Regions from separate parts of the Homo sapiens genome. Here region 2 is linked to region 1. The links are contacts of gene promoters, found by promoter capture Hi-C in blood cells and fetal thymus (Javierre and others, 2016). All regions are on one chromosome and are shown on one strand. The core of a region is centred on a gene start or on the middle of the fragment in contact, and the rest is flanking DNA. Distances in the headings are between cores, read along the strand shown.

What was found. The method cuts DNA at HindIII sites, captures the fragments that hold promoters and counts their contacts. A CHiCAGO score of 5 or more calls a contact.
Region 2: a contact is called between the fragment with the promoter of HSD17B14 here and the fragment with the promoter of NUCB1-AS1 in region 1, in 2 of 17 cell types (monocytes and neutrophils). The highest score is 5.1, in monocytes.

The regions. Positions count from the first base shown.
Region 1 is chr19:48,917,475-48,921,568 of GRCh38, forward strand. It overlaps NUCB1-AS1 (NUCB1 antisense RNA 1), which reads right to left and starts at 1,417. Exons shown (of 2, transcript NR_046633.1): 1 at 1,230-1,417. NUCB1 (nucleobindin 1) reads left to right here. Exons shown (of 13, transcript NM_006184.6): 8 at 1,252-1,310; 9 at 1,556-1,648; 10 at 1,720-1,812; 11 at 3,680-3,850. RefSeq lists an enhancer at 1,616-2,115. The HindIII fragment of the contact is 8,372 bases long and covers 1-4,094 here.
Region 2 is chr19:48,835,178-48,839,220 of GRCh38, forward strand. HSD17B14 (hydroxysteroid 17-beta dehydrogenase 14) reads right to left here and starts at 1,314. Exons shown (of 9, transcript NM_016246.3): 1 at 1,147-1,314; 2 at 628-666. The coding sequence starts at 1,234. It overlaps PLEKHA4 (pleckstrin homology domain containing A4), which reads right to left. Exons shown (of 20, transcript NM_020904.3): 18 at 4,028-4,043; 19 at 2,840-2,952; 20 at 1,920-2,374. The coding sequence ends at 2,112. RefSeq lists silencers at 2,222-2,291, 3,681-3,881. The HindIII fragment of the contact is 28,283 bases long and covers 1-4,043 here.

The DNA of each region.
Region 1 (4,094 bases), core at 167-2,666:
CACCATGCCCAGCCAATTTTTAAATTTTTTTTTTCTTTTTGAGGCAGAGTCTTGCTCTGTTGCCCAGGCTGGAGTGCAATGGCATGATCTTGGCACACTGCAACCCCCGCCTCCCAGGTTCAAGCTATTCTCCTGCCTCAGCCTCCTGAGTAGCTGGGGTTACAGGCACTTGGCATTATGCCTGGCTAATTTTTGTATTTTTGTAGAGACGGGGTTTTACTATGCTGGCCAGGCTGGTCTTGAACTCCTGACTTCAGGTGATCCTCCTGCCTCGGCCTCCCAAAGTGCTGGGATTACAGGCGTGAGCCACCGCACCCGGCCCAATTTTTTACTTTTTTTTTTTTTTTTGTAGAGACGGGGTCTAGCCATCTTTTCTAAGCTGGTCTCGAACTTAATGTGCTCAAATGATCTTGCCTTAGCCTTCCAAAGTACTGGGATTACAGGCATGAGCCCCTAAATTTGGCCCCTACATTTTCTTTAATCTTAATCAATTTACATTTAAACAGCCCATGTGGCTAGCGGCTACTGTACTGGACAGCGCAGATCCAGAGTTTAGGCAGAGAAGAGACCCCCAGGCCTGAGCCCTGGGCCACACTAGCATGTGGAGGTCAGGAAGAGGATGGAGCCGTCAAAGGAGGTGGAGGGGCAGCCAGAGAGGACAGAATCATGTTCTGGAAGCCAAGGGCAGAAAGTCAAGTCAGATGCAGGTGGAAATTAACCACTGGATTTGCAAGATGAGGGTTCCTGGCCTCCTCCTCAGGAGGAAGGTTGTGCTTGTCTGAGGGAGCCGAGGAAGGAGGGCCGGTGGTGAGGACAGGAAGTGTGGCTGACCGAGCCTGAAGCCCTGCAGCTGTGGGGTCTACGTTGGTAGGAGAGGCTCCCCTCACAACTGGAGTCGGCACTGGCCTGGTTGTCTGGGAGGCAGAGGTCCCTGATAACCCTGGAGCTGACTCTGTGTCCAGAGCACTGAATGCCAGGGCCAGAGAATCCTGCATGACAGTGACCCAAGCATGTTTCCTCGAACCCTCCCTTTGATCTATTCCATTCTCAACCCCCTGGTCGCTAGGCAGTGGCCCTAGCAACGGGTCTAGTGGGGTACTAAAGCCTGGGGGCCACCGTTCCACCGCGGGAGACCCGTAGTTACCTGTCCTCTGATAACAGACCCCACATCAGCCCAAAATTTCTTCACCAGGGACCTTACACATCCCGTCCTCGGTCCCCTGAGATACCTTGCTATCCTCTTCCCTTCAGATATCAACAGTGATGGTGTCCTGGATGAGCAGGAGCTGGAGGCACTCTTCACCAAGGAGGTGAGCATCTTGGAAGCCTCGGGCACCTGGAGGGACGCCCAAATCAGCCACTTGTTTCCTCCTGCAGTCCCCTTAAATCCCCCTGGATGGGAGCTCAGTGAAAACTACAACTCCCATCAGCCCCTGGGGCAAAAACGGCTCCCAGGAGTGGTAGCGTGCCCAAAGGACTGCTGGGAGTTGAAGTTGTCGGGAATGAGCTCGCTGGGGACCTCTCAATGCTGTCTGCCTCTCGCTTGCTCCTGCAGCTGGAGAAAGTGTACGACCCAAAGAATGAGGAGGACGACATGCGGGAGATGGAGGAGGAGCGACTGCGCATGCGGGAGCATGTGATGAAGAATGTGAGGTGGGGGCCAGGCGGGGGAGAGGACGGGCCCCCAGCTCTGTCACTCACCCTTATCTGGCTCCCCAGGTGGACACCAACCAGGACCGCCTCGTGACCCTGGAGGAGTTCCTCGCATCCACTCAGAGGAAGGAGTTTGGGGACACCGGGGAGGGCTGGGAGGTGAGAACATGGGGGATACTCGGGGTCCTGAACCTCTCTCTCTTCTAGCCATGACCTTTCTTTCAGAATCTTAGGCCCCTTCTCTTTCTCTCTGGGTCCCCGTCCATTCTCCTGGGTCACTGCATCTCTATCTCTGGGTCTCTGTTTTCCCCTGTCTCTAGGACTCTTATTTATTTATTTATTTATTTATTTATTTATTTATTTATTCTGAGACGGAGTCTCACTCCATCGCCCAGGCTGCAGTGCAGTGGCACGATCTCGGCTCACTGCAGCCTCCACCTCCCAGGTTCAAGCAATTCTCCTGGCTCATCCTCTTGAGTAGCTGGGATTATAGGTGCGTGCCACCACACCCAGCTGATTTTTGTATTTTTAGTAGAGGCAGGATTTCACCATGTTGGCCAGGCTGGTCTCAAACTCCTGACCTCAGGTTATCCACCCACCTTGGCCTCCCAAAGTGCTGGGATTAGAGGTGTGATTTTTTTTTTTTTTTTTTTTTTTCTGAAACAGGGTCTTGCTCTGTCGCGTAGGCTGGAGCCCAGTGGTGGGATCTCGGCTCACTGCAACCTCCGCCTCTTGGATTCAAGCGATCCTCCCATCTCAGCCTCATGAGTAGCTGGGATTACAGGCGTGAGCCACCATGCCTGGCTAATTTTTGTATTTTTTGTAGAGATGGGGTTTTGCCATATCGGCCAGGCTGCTCTAGAACTGCTGGACTCAAGCGATCCACCTGACCTGGCCTCCCTAAGTGGTGGGATTACAGGCATGCACCACCGCACCACACCTAGCTAATTTTTGTATTTTTTGGTAGAGACAGGGTTTTGCATGTTGGCCAGGCTGCTCTGAAACTCCTGGACTCAAGCTATCCACCCTTCTCAGCCTCCCAAAGTGCTGGGATTACCCAGGCTGGAGTGCAGGGGTGTTATCATGGCCCACTGCAGCCTCAAACTCCTGTCCTCAAGTGATCCTCCTGCCTGAGCCTCCCTATTAGCTGGGACTACAGGCACATGCCAGCATGCCTAGCTAATCTAGCTCATTCTTTTATTTATTTATTAATATTTTTTGAGACAGGGTCTCCTGTCACCCAGGCTGGAGTGCAGTGGTGTAATCATAGTTCACTGCAGCCTTGAATTCCTGGGCTCAGGTGATCCTCCTTCCTTAGCCTCCTGAGTAACTGGGACTACAGGCACATACCACCATGCCCAGCTAATCTAGGTCTCTGTTTTATTTATTTATTTATTTGTTTGTTTATTTTTCAATACAGAGTTTTGCTCTTGTTGCCCAGGCTGTAGTGCAATGGTGCATTCTCAGCTCATTGCAACCTCCACCTCCCAGGTTCAAGCAATTCTCCTGCCTCAGCCTCCTGAGTAGCTGGGATTATATGCATGTACCACCATGCCCTGCTCATTTTGTATTTTTAGTAGAGACGGGGTTTCTCCATGTTGGTCAGGCTCATCTCAAACTACTGACCTCAGGTGAGCCACCCACCTCGGCCTCCGAAAGTGCTGGGATTACAGGTGTGAGCCATGGTGCCTGGCCTATTTCTATATATTTTTCAAGATGCCCAGCCAATTTTCTGTAGAGACAGGGTCTCGCTCCGTTGCCCAGGCTGACCTTGAACTCCTGGCGTCAAGTGATCCTTCCCACTTTCGCCTCCCAAAGTCCTGGGATTACAGGTGGGAGCCATGGTGCCCGGCCTTGTCTCTCGGTCTTTATCCCACTCCCACCTCCCACTTGGGCTTCTTTGCCCACCCACATGGCCCTGGCCTCCCAGCCTCCTCTACACCTCCCCCATTGGCACAACCCTCTCCAACATGGGTGGGCCGAGGTTGGACCTGTGCCCCTGATGGCCCCTGTGCCTGCCCTGCAGACAGTGGAGATGCACCCTGCCTACACCGAGGAAGAGCTGAGGCGCTTTGAAGAGGAGCTGGCTGCCCGGGAGGCAGAGCTGAATGCCAAGGCCCAGCGCCTCAGCCAGGAGACAGAGGCTCTAGGGCGGTCCCAGGGCCGCCTGGAGGCCCAGAAGAGAGAGCTGCAGCAGGTGACAGCGGGGGAAGCTGCTTCCATCCACTGAATCTCTGGCTGCCCGTGTCCGTGTCCCCATGGGTGTCCAGAAGCTGGGAAGGCCTGTGGCCACCATGTTAATCACTGGGGGAGCCTCAAGTATTCACCGCCATCTTGAGTAAGGGCAGACGTTTTCCCGTCTCTGACGGCTCTGTGGCTGCCATGTGAGATAAGGGCATTAAGGCTGTAAGTGAGGAGGGAAAGGCCCAGGAGGGGGAGAA
Region 2 (4,043 bases), core at 64-2,563, 82 kb before region 1:
AGTAGGGCCTGGGGGCCTGGACTCCTGGGTCTGAGGGAGGAGGTGCTGGGAGCCTGGACTCCTGGGTCTGAGGGAGGAGGGGCTGGGGGCCTGGACTCCTGGGTCTGAGGGAGGAGGGGATGGGGGCCTGGACTCCTGGGTCTGAGGGAGGAGGGGCTGGGAGCCTGGACTCCTGGGTCTGAGGGAGGAGGGGCTGAGGTCTGGACTCCTGGGTCTGAGAAAGTAGGGCCTGGGGGCCTGGACTCCTGGGTCTGAGGGAGGAGGTGCCAGAGCCTGGACTCCTGGGTCTGAGGGAAGAGGGGCTGGGAGCCTGGACCCCTGGGTCTGAAGGAGGAGGGGTTGGGGACTTGGATTCCTGGGTCTGAGGGAGGAGGTGCCGGAGCCTGGACTTCTGGGTCTGAGGGAGGAGGGGCTGGGGACCTGGACTCCTGGGTCTGAGGGCAGAGGGGCTGGGGGCCTGGACTCCTAGGTCTGAGGGAGGAGGGGCTGAGGTCTGGACTCCTGGGTCTGAGGAAGTAGGGCCTGGGGGCCTGGACTCCGGGGTCTGAGGGAGGAGGTGCTAGGGGTCTGGACCTCTGGGTCTGAGGGAGGAAGGGCCAAGGTGAGGGCTGAGGGACCGTCACTCACCATCCTTGTCGCAGATAACCACTCGGGCCCCGCTGTTCACTGAGAATAGGAAGGGAACAGGTTACTCTCCGAGCCTTGGTTAAAGCCTCTGCCGCCCTCTTGTGGCCACCTGGATTGGGGCTGATCTCCCTCTCCCCTCGTGACCCCAGTCTCATGATCACCCATAGGACAGAGGGCAGACGCCTTGACACATACTCTCCTTGCCTTGTTTCTGCTGAGGCTCCTGAACCCCCGTTCGTGGCTTCCGGAGCAAACTCCACGACTGACAGAGCCATTCCTCAAACCACTGGTTTTGTAGCTACACCAACAGACCCAGAGAAAGGGGCCACTGCCTTCGGAGACCCTGCCAGACTCAGCCCTAGCCTACAGCGCCACACGCTTACTTTAGCCTGCAAATTGGCTTTTATAATATCAGAATCCTGGCTGCAGTACTGGAGTCCCTATTTTCCGCCCCCATCACCCCGCCCCCATCCTTCCTTTCTCACACTCCACAGCTCCCAGCAGTCAGACCCGGCTCACCGAAGGCGCGCACGATCCCAGCTCCGATGCCGCGCCCGCCCCCGGTCACGACCACCACCTTCCCGGCATAGCGCGTTCCCGTAGCCATCCCGTGTACGTCGGTCTCTCTCTCTCTCTACTCTGGGCCTCTTTCACCTCCAAAGCCCCGTGAGGCCGTCGCATCAAATCCTCAATAGAGGCTGGATCCTGGAAGTCCGGCCTCGGGGGGCGTTGCCAGGAAGGCTAGAGACCTGGAAGTTTGTCCCCAGCCCCTCCTCCCTCAGACACTCCTCTCTTCCCACAGACCCAGGAATCCAGGAGCCCCAGTCCCTCCTCCCACAGACCCAGGAATCCAGAAGCCTCAGTCCCTCCTCCCTCAGACTCGGGAGTCCAGGCCCCCAGCCCCTCCTCCCTCAGACTCGGGAGTCCAGCCTCCCAGCCCCTCCTCCCTCAGACCCGGGAGTCCAGCCTCCCAGCCCCTCCTCCCTCAGACCCAGGAGTCAGGGTCCCAGCCCCTCCTCCCTCAGACCCGGGAGTCCAGCCTCCCAGTCCCTCCTCCCTCAGACCCAGGAGTCAGGGTCCCACCCCTTCCTCCCTCAGACCCGGGAATCCTGGCCCAGCCCCCTCCACTCTCAGACCGAGGGATCAGGTTCTCTATCCCTTCTTCCCAGAGACCTATAAGTCCAAGCCCCCTGTCCCTTCCTCTCTCAGGACCCAGGAGTCCACGACTCCAGCTCTGCCCCTCAGAGACACCAGTGCCACAACCCCAGACAGACAGAAAGAAAGCTATTGACTAAAAGTTCAAAGTTTTAATCCAAATTTAGACAGTGTTGAGAAAACCAAACTTTGGCCATAGAAACCATTCCCCTCCCGGGCCCGCAATGGGGACCAGACCACGCCCCCTGATGCCCTGAGTGGTCCCAGATCTCCGGCGGTACCTCCAGACCACGTCCTCGCGCTCCGATTGGCTGCCGCTTTTGGGCGGATTAGAAGCTGGATTGTAGCAGAGTGACTCGCAGAGGCCATGCCCCCTCGTCTTGTGGCAGGACCGGAGGGGCGATCCCGGCATCCCACGCGGGCCCCCAGGGGGTGGGACCTCCTCCACGCCCACTCCCTCGGCGAGAGAACCCCGTGGAACCCGAATTAGCCACCGGGGGAGATCTGGGGGGAGGGGTCTCCTGGCGCGTGGGGTCCGAAGGAGGCAGCGGCACACCGGGAAGAGGGTCTCCCTGGGAGTCCAAATTTCCACCTGGAGAGGATGAGTGGGACATGAGAATGGCAAACCTCAGCGCTAGGACCCCGGATTCCCAGCCCCTCCTCCCTCAGACCCAGGACTCCGGATTCCCAGCCCCTCCTCCATCAGACCCAGGAGTCCAGGCCCCCAGCCCCTCCTCCCTCAGACCCAGGAGTCCAGGCCCCCAGCCCCTCCTCCCTCAGATCCAGGAGTCTGGATACGCCAGTCCAGTCCTCTTTGAGACTCAGTTGTCGGCCCTCTCCCCGCCCCCTGACCTCTTCCTCCCCTCCTCCCAAGTGTCCCGGACCCCAGTCACCTCTTGCCTGAGACCTAAAACTCCCAAACCCTGCCCAACTCTTTACTCACCAAGATAAAAAATTCTCACCGGCCCCCAGACCCCTCCTCTCCAGGACCTGGGATTCCAGGTCTCCAGCTCTCTCCTCCCTAAAACCCAGAAGTCCAACATCCCCAGCCAGTCACCTGTCATCATTCTGTGCCACTGCGACGCCTCAGTAGCCAGGGCTTGGGAGAGGCTGAGAACCCGCTCCCGGTGACCTTCGGAAGTCGGCAAGTAAGGGGTGGTGTTCCTTGGACTAGAAAAAAAAAGAAGATTGGGGGTGGGGGTGTGTACATGGGGGAGAGGTGGGGGATGGTTAATTGGTACAAAAAGAAAAGGATGAATAAGACCTACTATTAGATAGCACAACAGAATGACTATAGTCAATAATAATTTAATTGTACATTTTTAAATAAATTAAAGGGTGTAACTAGATTGTTTATACATCAAAGGGTAAATCCTTGAAAGGGGATGGATACCCTATTCCCGATGATGTGCTTATTTCACATTGCCTGCCTGTATCAAAACATCTCAATTATCTCGTAAATATATGTATACCTAGTATGTACCAACAAAAATTAAAAATTAAAAAAAAAAAAAAAAAAGCAGGCCAGGTGCGACAGCTTATCCCTGTAATCCCAGCACCTTGGGAGGCCGAGGCGGGCGGATCACTTGAGGTCAGGAGTTCGAGACCACCCTGGCCAACATGGTGAAACCCAGTCTCTACCAAAAAATACAAAAAAGTTAGCCAGGCATGGTGGTGGGTGCCTGTAATTCCAGCTACTAGGGAGGCTGAGGAAGGAGAATCATTTGAACCCAGAAGGCGGAGGTTGCAGTGAACTGAGATCACGCCATTGCACTCCAGCCTGGGAGACAGAGCAAGACTCCGTCTCAAAAAAAAAAAAAAAGTAAAAAATAAAAATAAAAATAAAAAATAAACAGCTGGCACAGTGGGGACCCGGGTACCGCACGTGCCTTTCTGGGAGTTGTAGTTCCTAGCACGTGTCTCTAAAATACGTTAAACATGGCACCGCCCTCATACCGCCCACATGCATTACGGGATTTGTAGTCCACTCGCGCGTCACTATCACCCAATTTCCTTGATGCAGAAGTAGGATCTGCTATTGACCAAGGGAATTTGAGGAACTAAAGATATCACTACGGATCTAGGGCTTTCTGGTTTTGTTGCAGATGCCCCGGGAACTTAAGCATCTCTAGAAGGGTTGCGATTTGTACTTCCATATTCAGGAGACTTTAATAATAATGCTACTCCCCTTTGCTTTTGCAAATTTTTTTTTCCTGCTCCCTTGATACGCCCTCCAGTTCCTTACCTACTCCAGGACCCAG